Regions from separate parts of the Homo sapiens genome. Here regions 2 and 3 are each linked to region 1. Evidence: promoter capture Hi-C in 16 types of primary human blood cells and fetal thymus (Javierre and others, 2016). All regions are on one chromosome and are shown on one strand. Each heading gives the region's core, a stretch centred on a gene start or on the middle of the fragment in contact. The rest is flanking DNA. Distances are from core to core; before and after follow the strand shown.

Region 1 (2,617 bases), core at 81-2,580:
GTTCACGTTTGTAGTTCATGATTGGAACTCTTTCAACTTCTAACCTTGATTTCCAGGTACGTAACTCCACAAAATTGTTTATCTTATTTCCCCTAAAATGAGAAAGTGACTGCAAACTGCAAAGAACATGCCCCTGTTCTCCCAACCTAAAAACCCAGAGTTTCAGACATTTTGGTCTCACACCAAAGAACTGGGAGATGTGAAATGAACTGCGCTCCATATTGATTCTTAAAGCAAATAAGAAGAAAAAGGAAAAAAAAGCTAAGAATGGTAGGTAAGATAAAAGAATTGTTAAACTTCACCTCTAACCTGAAATCTTGGACCTCGCACACACAAAATCAAGATTTTTTTACACCCTATTCCTCAACAGAAAATATTCTGCAAAGGAGAGAAAATTTCGAAGAGTGGAAAGTAGAGGAAACACAGTAAGTACAGTAAAGAGAAAGGATTCGAAATTCATTTGCCAAGAACAAAAAAAATGAAACTTAAATTGCATAGGAGCTCTTACACACAAATGCATTGGCATTTCCCAAATTAAATTGCATGAGAGCAACAATACAGGCCATTTCTATATAGCACCCACTTACGAGCTCTAATTCCAGAACACACACCGATATGACATAGTGTTGCAATCAATGTATTAGGAGGCAAAGAAAATGGTTGGGCTACTGGACGTCTTCGACCAGCTCATTCAAATACCTTTAAAATTAATTAAGGGGCAGGGAACTAGAGAGAGAGGAAGAAAAAAAAAATGGAAGAATAAAGGCGCACCGAGTAGAAAAGATTAAAGGGAACGTGGAAGGCCGGGGCTGCCGAAACTAACCTGTGCCATCGCTGGCGGACGCCGAGAGGGCCGGAGATGAGAGTTTAGGCCGCTTGGCTGAAGGCGGCCCCGGTTCCACCACATTCTCGGCCATTTTTAATTCTTTCGGAGATACAAGCGAGGAAAACCAGAATCCTCAGGAAATCTCTTCTTCGGCCCGGGGTCCCCGCGCCGCACCCAGGGGTGGGCTGGGGGGCTCCGACGGCACCCGAGGGGGTGGGGGAAGTTCCTTTTTCTCTTCGCCGGGTCGCAGTGGCTGGAGAGGGATGCGGACTCGATAGAAAAGGTAAGGGCAAGTGCGAGGGGCCGGGCCTGGGCCCAAGCCCGGAGGAGGGCACAAGAGCACAAATTCGCCGAGCGCGTCCGCTGCGGCGAATTCCCGAGAACTCGCGGCTCTAGAGGCGCAGTCCCCGGCCCGCCACGGCCGGCCCCTGCCCAGCCGAGGTCTCTCGGAGCTCCGCCGCCGCCATCAACCTCTTCCTCCTCGGCGCTGTCCTCCTCCTTCTCATCGCCACAAGGAGGCGGGGGCGAAAAGGGGGGAGAGGAGGAGGCGACAAGAGACACTCACCTCCTCCCGGTGCCCCCTCCCGGGCCTGCGCCCCCACCCTCCGAACCCTCCTCCTGCCGCCGCGCTCCGCGCCGCCGCCGCCGCACCGGCCCCTAATGGCCGCAGAGAACTCGCCCGAGCCGAGAGCCAGGCTGGCGCCGCCGCCTCACATCGCGCGGCGGCCGGCGGAGGCGCGGCAAGGACGCCGGGAGCGGAGCTGGCCGGACCAGAGGGCCGAGGGGGCCGGGCCGAGCAGCGCCGCCCGCACGCCCGCGCCGACGCGGAGCCCACCGAGGAGGCCCCGCTCCGGCGGCGGCGCAGGCGGCCCCTCCTCGCGCCGCGCTCCCCTCCTTCGCCTTCCTTTCCCGCGGAAAATAAATAAATACGGCCGCTGCTACGGCCCCCACCGCCGGCGGCCAGGTGCTGGGAGCGCCCGCCCCCCGGGGCTCCGTTCGGGGCCGCCCGCGGCGGCGGGAGAAGACGCCGCGGGGCGCGGGGTTATGTAATGGTCCCCCCTAGGCGTCGACGCCGGCCCGGCTGCTGGACCGCGGTGGGGGTGTGTGCGGACGGGAGGGGGCTGGGGGTCGCCTCAGCCCGTGCGCCCCGGGCCCCCTGCCACTGTCTCGGCCCCTGCCGCCTCTCTCCGACCCGACTCCCCTCCGCACTCTCTGGCTCCCGCAGTTAGCACTCAGCCCGGCGTCCTGCTTGCCCACTCTCGCCCGCTCTCTCTCGCCCTCTCTCCCCCCCAGCCTAGCACACAAACAAGATGGCGGCTGTTGTTTCTTCCCTCTGCCGAATCCTCCTTACAGGCTAGCGGTAGCGGCGGCGGCCGGAAATGAGCCAAGGGGGGGTGGAAAAGGGGAGTGGCCGGGCCTCCGGAGGGGGGCGGGGCCTAGGCCCGAGCCGCTCACACAATGGGGGAAGTGGAGCCGGGGGCGGGGCCTGTCCCAATCACGGGATCCGCCCTAGGCCCCAACGCGGTTAGCGCTTCCGCAAACTCCCCCGGCGTCACCCTGTGGCTCCCTTTAAAGGGGAGGATTTTAAGAGTGGGGAGGATTTTAAGGGGGGAGGGGCGGGGGCGGACTCAGAATCTATTTTCAGTCGGTGGATAGTTACGAGGGAAGGTTCCTGCCTTTGGTCTCTGCGTAAGGGACCAGTGGGAACCGGGACGACGGAACCCCGGAGCTGCTCCGAGGAAGGCGCCAAGTCGCCACTCAGGTGGCCAAATGGGAGCGCCCGTAGGGCGG
Region 2 (2,617 bases), core at 89-2,588, 220 kb after region 1:
TTTAAGTATTACATGCCTTTAAATTTTTTTTCCTTTTTTTTTGAGACAGAGTCTCCCTCTGTCCCCCAAGCTGGAGTGCAGTGGCACAATTCTGGCTCACTGCAACCTCCGCCTCCCAGATTCAGGTGATTCTCCTGCCTCAGCCTCCCCAGTAGCTGAGATTATAGGCATATGCCACCACACCCGGCTAATTTTTTTTTTGGGGGGTATTTTTAGTAGAGACAGGATTTCACCATATTGGTTAGGCTGGTCTCAAACTCCTGGCCTCAGGTGATCCACCCACCTTGGCCTCCCAAAGTTCTGGGATTACATGTATGAGCCACTGCGCCCGGCCCCTTTTAATTTTTCTTAAAAATTTACTCTGCTTCACCCTACAATCACTTTAACACTTCCACAAGTTTTGCATCTCTGGAAGGAGAAACACAAATGATTAATTCTTTTGATACTTTTGTCTGCAGAAAAATCTGTACCTAATGGTACATCTGATAGTTTGAGGTTTAAAATACTAATAATTCTGTTTTAAAATTCCATCTACTTCCATCCCTTCTCACTTACCCCAATGTCCAAAATCCCACGTCTAGGAGAGTAAAATTAGGACAGGCATCCCTTTTCCCCCAGATATTCACATACATATGTATGTGAACATATACGTGTACATATTTATTTACATTCACTTATACTTAACATGCACTTAAGGTATAGAGCAAAAAAATCTAGATACAGAGGCCATTATCTTGACAATATAATTACTAGGTTTAAGGCCTGGAAAATGCAGCTTACCATGTAAAAATATCTCACCACAAGAAATCAGTAATTTTCAAAGCTGGTAAAACTATCAATTCTACTTAAAAAAATAACTCGAGTCTACAGGTAGGTTGATAGGGTAGATAAATACTAAAATTAATACCAACTGGGTTGCTATTAAGCTTACCTTACAGCTTTGAAAAACTCTGATTTCTTGTGGGTTTCAGTGGTGAGCTGCATTTCCTTAGTTTCAGCCGACTTCCCAGCAGGAATTCGAGTCTGATGAAAAATCAGCAAAAGGAAGCCCTCACTGAGAAACATACTGGTATCATTCACTGAGTGGGGATAGTGAAAAAGGAACATATTTCTAAAGGTAAATTTCCATTAGTAATATATATGCTTATATGGCAAATACATATTTAATTTCTTATGGCAGAAAGAACAATTAATTTTCCTTGAAAACCTGATTGCTTTTTCTACAATGTGTTTGCTTTTACCCTACCTTCCTCTCTGAGATATTCATTAGTCATAGTTCACCCCTTAAGTGCAAGAAATCAAAACAAAAAACCTTTAGGTCTAAATTTGAGCAATAGTTATAAGACATCTTCTGGCAGCAACGCTGGGATCTTATAGCAGAAAAAAAAATTAGTAAAACAAACCTTTATCATTTTTTTGCATCACCTTTATCAACTGGGATACTACCTCTCAAATCTGTGACAAACAAATCTGGAAATCTTGCTTAATCTATATAGAAATAGGTTATAATTTTAAAGTAAATATTTGATAATTTCAAGAAAAAACATGTTTTCTAAAATGTCTTTAACACAGTAATTCACAATAGTATACAATTCTAAAAGCTGACTTAGAAATAGAACTTTGCTTTAAAAACATCCTGAAATACATACCTTTCATTAATTATTCTGAATTATAAGGTCTATCATATTTAAACCTTGTTCTAGACTAGTATTGTCAATAAAGCACCAGTACCCACATGTAGTTAAGCTTAAATTTAAATTAATTAAAATTAAATAAAATAAAAAGTTCAGCTCCTCAGCTGTACTAGCAACCTTATTAGTGTAAAATGGCCATGTGAGGTTAGTGGCTACCTTATGGAACAGCACAGATCCAGAGCTTACTGCAAGAAGTTCTATTGCATAGCATTGCTCTAGACAGAACCTAAATGGGGAGATAGCACAGTTAAAAGGCCTTACCTGGTCTGAGGAGGTGTGGGTGTGTAAAGGGGCTGGGCTGGCCTAAGTATCGGTTTGGAATCCTCCTTTCTGGGACAGGCTGAAGGGAGTACCTTCGCTGTGAACACAACATACATCCTGAATGAAGAATAAAGAGAATGAAATGAAACAATAGATCTAGAAAGTCTTCATGGTATAAATACACTTATCTCTAGCAGTTTAGATGCTTTAGAAAAATGCAAACTAATATTTCCTTCCTTCTCTCCTTCAATATTCATTTATTTTTTTTTTAAGACAGAGTCTCACTCTGTCACCCAGGCTGGAGTCAGTGGCATGATCTCGGCTCACTGCAACCTCCACCTCCTGGGTTCAAGTGATTCTCCTGCCTCAAGCCTCCTACATAGCTGGGATTACAGGTGCGTGCCACCATGTCTGGCTAATTTTTGTAGAGACGGGGTTTAATCCTGTTGGCCAGGCTGGTCTCGAACTCTTGACCTCAAGTGATCCGCCCACCTCGGCCTCCCAAAGTGTTGGGATTACAGGCATGAGCCACTGCACCTGGCCCTCCTTCAATATTTATATGGCCTTTGCTCTGTGTCAGACTCTGTGTTGGGCCTTAGGAAAACAGAAATGAGATCTTTACCCTCAGAGACATTTGTCTGCTATAATATTTTATACACATA
Region 3 (2,617 bases), core at 76-2,575, 180 kb after region 1:
TTTTACAGATGGGGTCTTGCTCTGTTGCCCAGGCTGGTGTGTACTGGCTATTCACAAGCTTGTTCCCATTACTGATCAGTATGAGAGTTGTGACCTGCTCTGTTTCTGACCTGGGCCAGTTCAGCCCTCCTTAGGTAATGTGCAAAAACCTCTAACTGGTTGCAGACACCTGATCAACATAGTGGACTGCAGCTTAGAACTCTTGGACTCAAGTGATCCTCCTGCCTCAGCCTCCTGAGTAGCTGAGACTATAGGTGCATGCCACTATGCTTGGTCATTGTGGGGTTTTTTTCTTTTTCTTTTTTTTTGCGACAGGGTCTGGCTCTGTCACCCAGGCTGGATTGCAATGGTGCAATCTTGGCTCACTGCAACCTCTGTCTCCTGGGCTCAAGCAATTCTCCCACCTCAGCCTCTTGAGTAGCTGGGACTACAGGCATGTGCCACCACGCCTGGCTAATTTTTTTGTAAAGACCAGGTTTCACTATGCTGCCCATGTTGGTCTTGAACTCCTGAGCTCAAGTGATCCTCCTGTCTTTCCTCCCAGTGTGCTGGGATTACATGAGGCACCTCGCCTGGCTGTCCTTTGTGTTTTAAAGATATTTTTATCACCCAAATATTCACCCCAAGATAATTTTCTTTGTGTTCATTTGTAATATATTTGATATAACTAAAATCTCTTTTAGTTAGTAGGCTCCTCCTCCACCTCTTTTCATTTCCTTGTAATTTATTTGTTAAAGAATCCAGGCTGCTTGACATACAGAGTTTATCAGTCTAGATTTTGGGCAGTTACAGACTGAATGTTTGTGAATTAGGAGGTAATTATTTTGAGGTAACAAATACTACCTAGTGTTTGGTTTTGTTAGCTAGTTGCTCTATGTTTATTTGACAATTTGGAAAGTTTGAAAAACTATCCTGCTGCTGCCATCTTCCCACAATCTCTGGTTCTTTTTTGTTTCTATTTCTCATTGAGATTCTCCATCTGTTTGCTCATTATGTCTACATCTTCCTTTAACTTATCTATAACAGCTACTTTAGAGTCTTTCTGCTAATTGGAACATTAGGATCATTTCTTTCTTTTTTTTTTTCCTTTGTTTGAGATGGAGTCTCACTCTGTCGCCCAAGCTGGAGTGCAGTGGTACAATCTCGGCTCACTGCAACCTCCCCTTTCCCGGTTCAAGCGATATTCCTGCCTCAGCCTCCCGAGTAGCTGGGATTACAGGTGCCCGCCACCACACTCAGCTAATTTTTGTATTTTTAGTAGAGACAGGGTTTCACATTTTGGCCAGGCTGGTCTTGAACTCCTGACTTCAAGTAATCTGCCCACCTCGGCCCCCCAAAGTGCTAGAATTACAGGCATGAGCCACTGCACCTGGCCAGGATTATTTCATTATCAGATTTTCTTGATTACAGGTCACAATTACCAGTTTCTTCTCATGTCTAGAAATTTTGTTAACTTGGATAGCTTCAAACTACAAACTCTGTTCTCACTGGGAAGCAACTAAAATCTCTGCTCAGTTTATTCTGCTTCTAGCTGCTCGTATTTTGCTGAGCCTCATGAGGCCTCCTCAGAACACATAGTTCAGTAATCAGCCAAGGATTTTTAAATATTCTGTATGCAGATTTTGGGGCTCAGAGTTTCCACAAGCCCTTCTCGTCAAGGATTTTCCTTCATCTTTCTGGCTATTCTGTCAGCACCTAAATCTATCATTTGATATCTTAAATCAATAAGGCTGTGGCTTTCTGCCGCCCAAGCTATGTGCATTGGGCAATGTCCTCAGGCAAAAAGCCCTTATCACCATTTTTATCCATTATAGTTTTTCTTTTTTTTTTTTTTCAGATAGAGTCTCACTCTGTCACCCAGGCTGGAGTGCAGAGTCCAATCTTAGCTCACTGCAACTTCCGTCCCCTGGGTTCAAGCGATTCTCCTGCCTTAGCCTCCCGAGTACCATTCCCAGGCTAATTTTTGTATTTTTAGTAGAGACAGGGTTTCACCATTTTGGTCAGGCTGGTCCTGAACTCCTGACCTCAGGTGCTCTGCCTGCCTTGGGCTCCCAAAGTCCTGGGATTACAGGTATGAGCCACCAGGCCTGGCCCATTATAGTTTTTTAAGAATGGACTTGTACTTGGCTAACACGGTGAAATCCCATCTCTACGAAAAATACAAAAAATTAGCCAGGCGTGGTGGTGGGTGCCTGTAGTCCCGCTACTCGGGAGGCTGAAGCAGGAGAATGATGTGAACCTGGGAGGTGGAGCTAGCAGTGAGCCGAGATCATGCCACTGCACTCCAGCCTGGGTGCCAGAGCGAGACTCCGTCTCAAAAAAAAAAAAAAAAAAAGAATGGACTTGTACAATTTCTGCCTATTTTTGAAAGCTCTCTGGTGCCTTTTATTTTGATTTTTTTCATGTCAGATGGGTAATGTGCTGACCTTGTAAGAAGGTTTGAGGGTAGCACATCTCATACCTGCACGTGAACACCCAATCATCACACTCATGAGCTACAAAGGGATCTCTAGTGCCTTTAAATAGTTATTTTTAATATTTTGTCCAGATTTTATAATTATTATCTATGGAGGATTAATCCAATCAAGCTTTCTACCATAACCTGAATATTACTTCT

The links. The method cuts DNA at HindIII sites, captures the fragments that hold promoters and counts their contacts. A CHiCAGO score of 5 or more calls a contact.
Region 2: a fragment that was not itself captured here is called in contact with the fragment with the promoter of EP300 in region 1 in 4 of 17 cell types (endothelial precursors, M2 macrophages, erythroblasts and 1 more); the score reaches 6.1 in endothelial precursors.
Region 3: a contact is called between a fragment that was not itself captured here and the fragment with the promoter of EP300 in region 1, in 16 of 17 cell types (megakaryocytes, M2 macrophages, naive B cells and 13 more). The highest score is 15.4, in megakaryocytes.

The regions. Positions count from the first base shown.
Region 1 is chr22:41,091,305-41,093,921 of GRCh38, reverse strand. It overlaps EP300 (EP300 lysine acetyltransferase), which reads right to left and starts at 1,330. Exons shown (of 31, transcript NM_001429.4): 1 at 824-1,330. The coding sequence starts at 917. MIR1281 (microRNA 1281) reads right to left here and starts at 1,409; the gene lies at 1,356-1,409. RefSeq lists an enhancer at 640-879 and silencers at 990-1,089, 1,270-2,039, 2,140-2,429. The HindIII fragment of the contact is 3,482 bases long and covers 1-2,617 here.
Region 2 is chr22:40,868,454-40,871,070 of GRCh38, reverse strand. XPNPEP3 (X-prolyl aminopeptidase 3) reads right to left here. Exons shown (of 10, transcript NM_022098.4): 2 at 1,956-2,072. Among named protein-coding and RNA genes, the nearest start is that of DNAJB7, 7.6 kb to the right of the region's middle. The HindIII fragment of the contact is 820 bases long and covers 929-1,748 here.
Region 3 is chr22:40,914,769-40,917,385 of GRCh38, reverse strand. The region is part of intron 7 of XPNPEP3 (X-prolyl aminopeptidase 3); the gene reads right to left. It overlaps LOC124905157 (small nucleolar RNA U13), which reads right to left and starts at 2,507; the gene lies at 2,404-2,507. The HindIII fragment of the contact is 2,530 bases long and covers 61-2,590 here.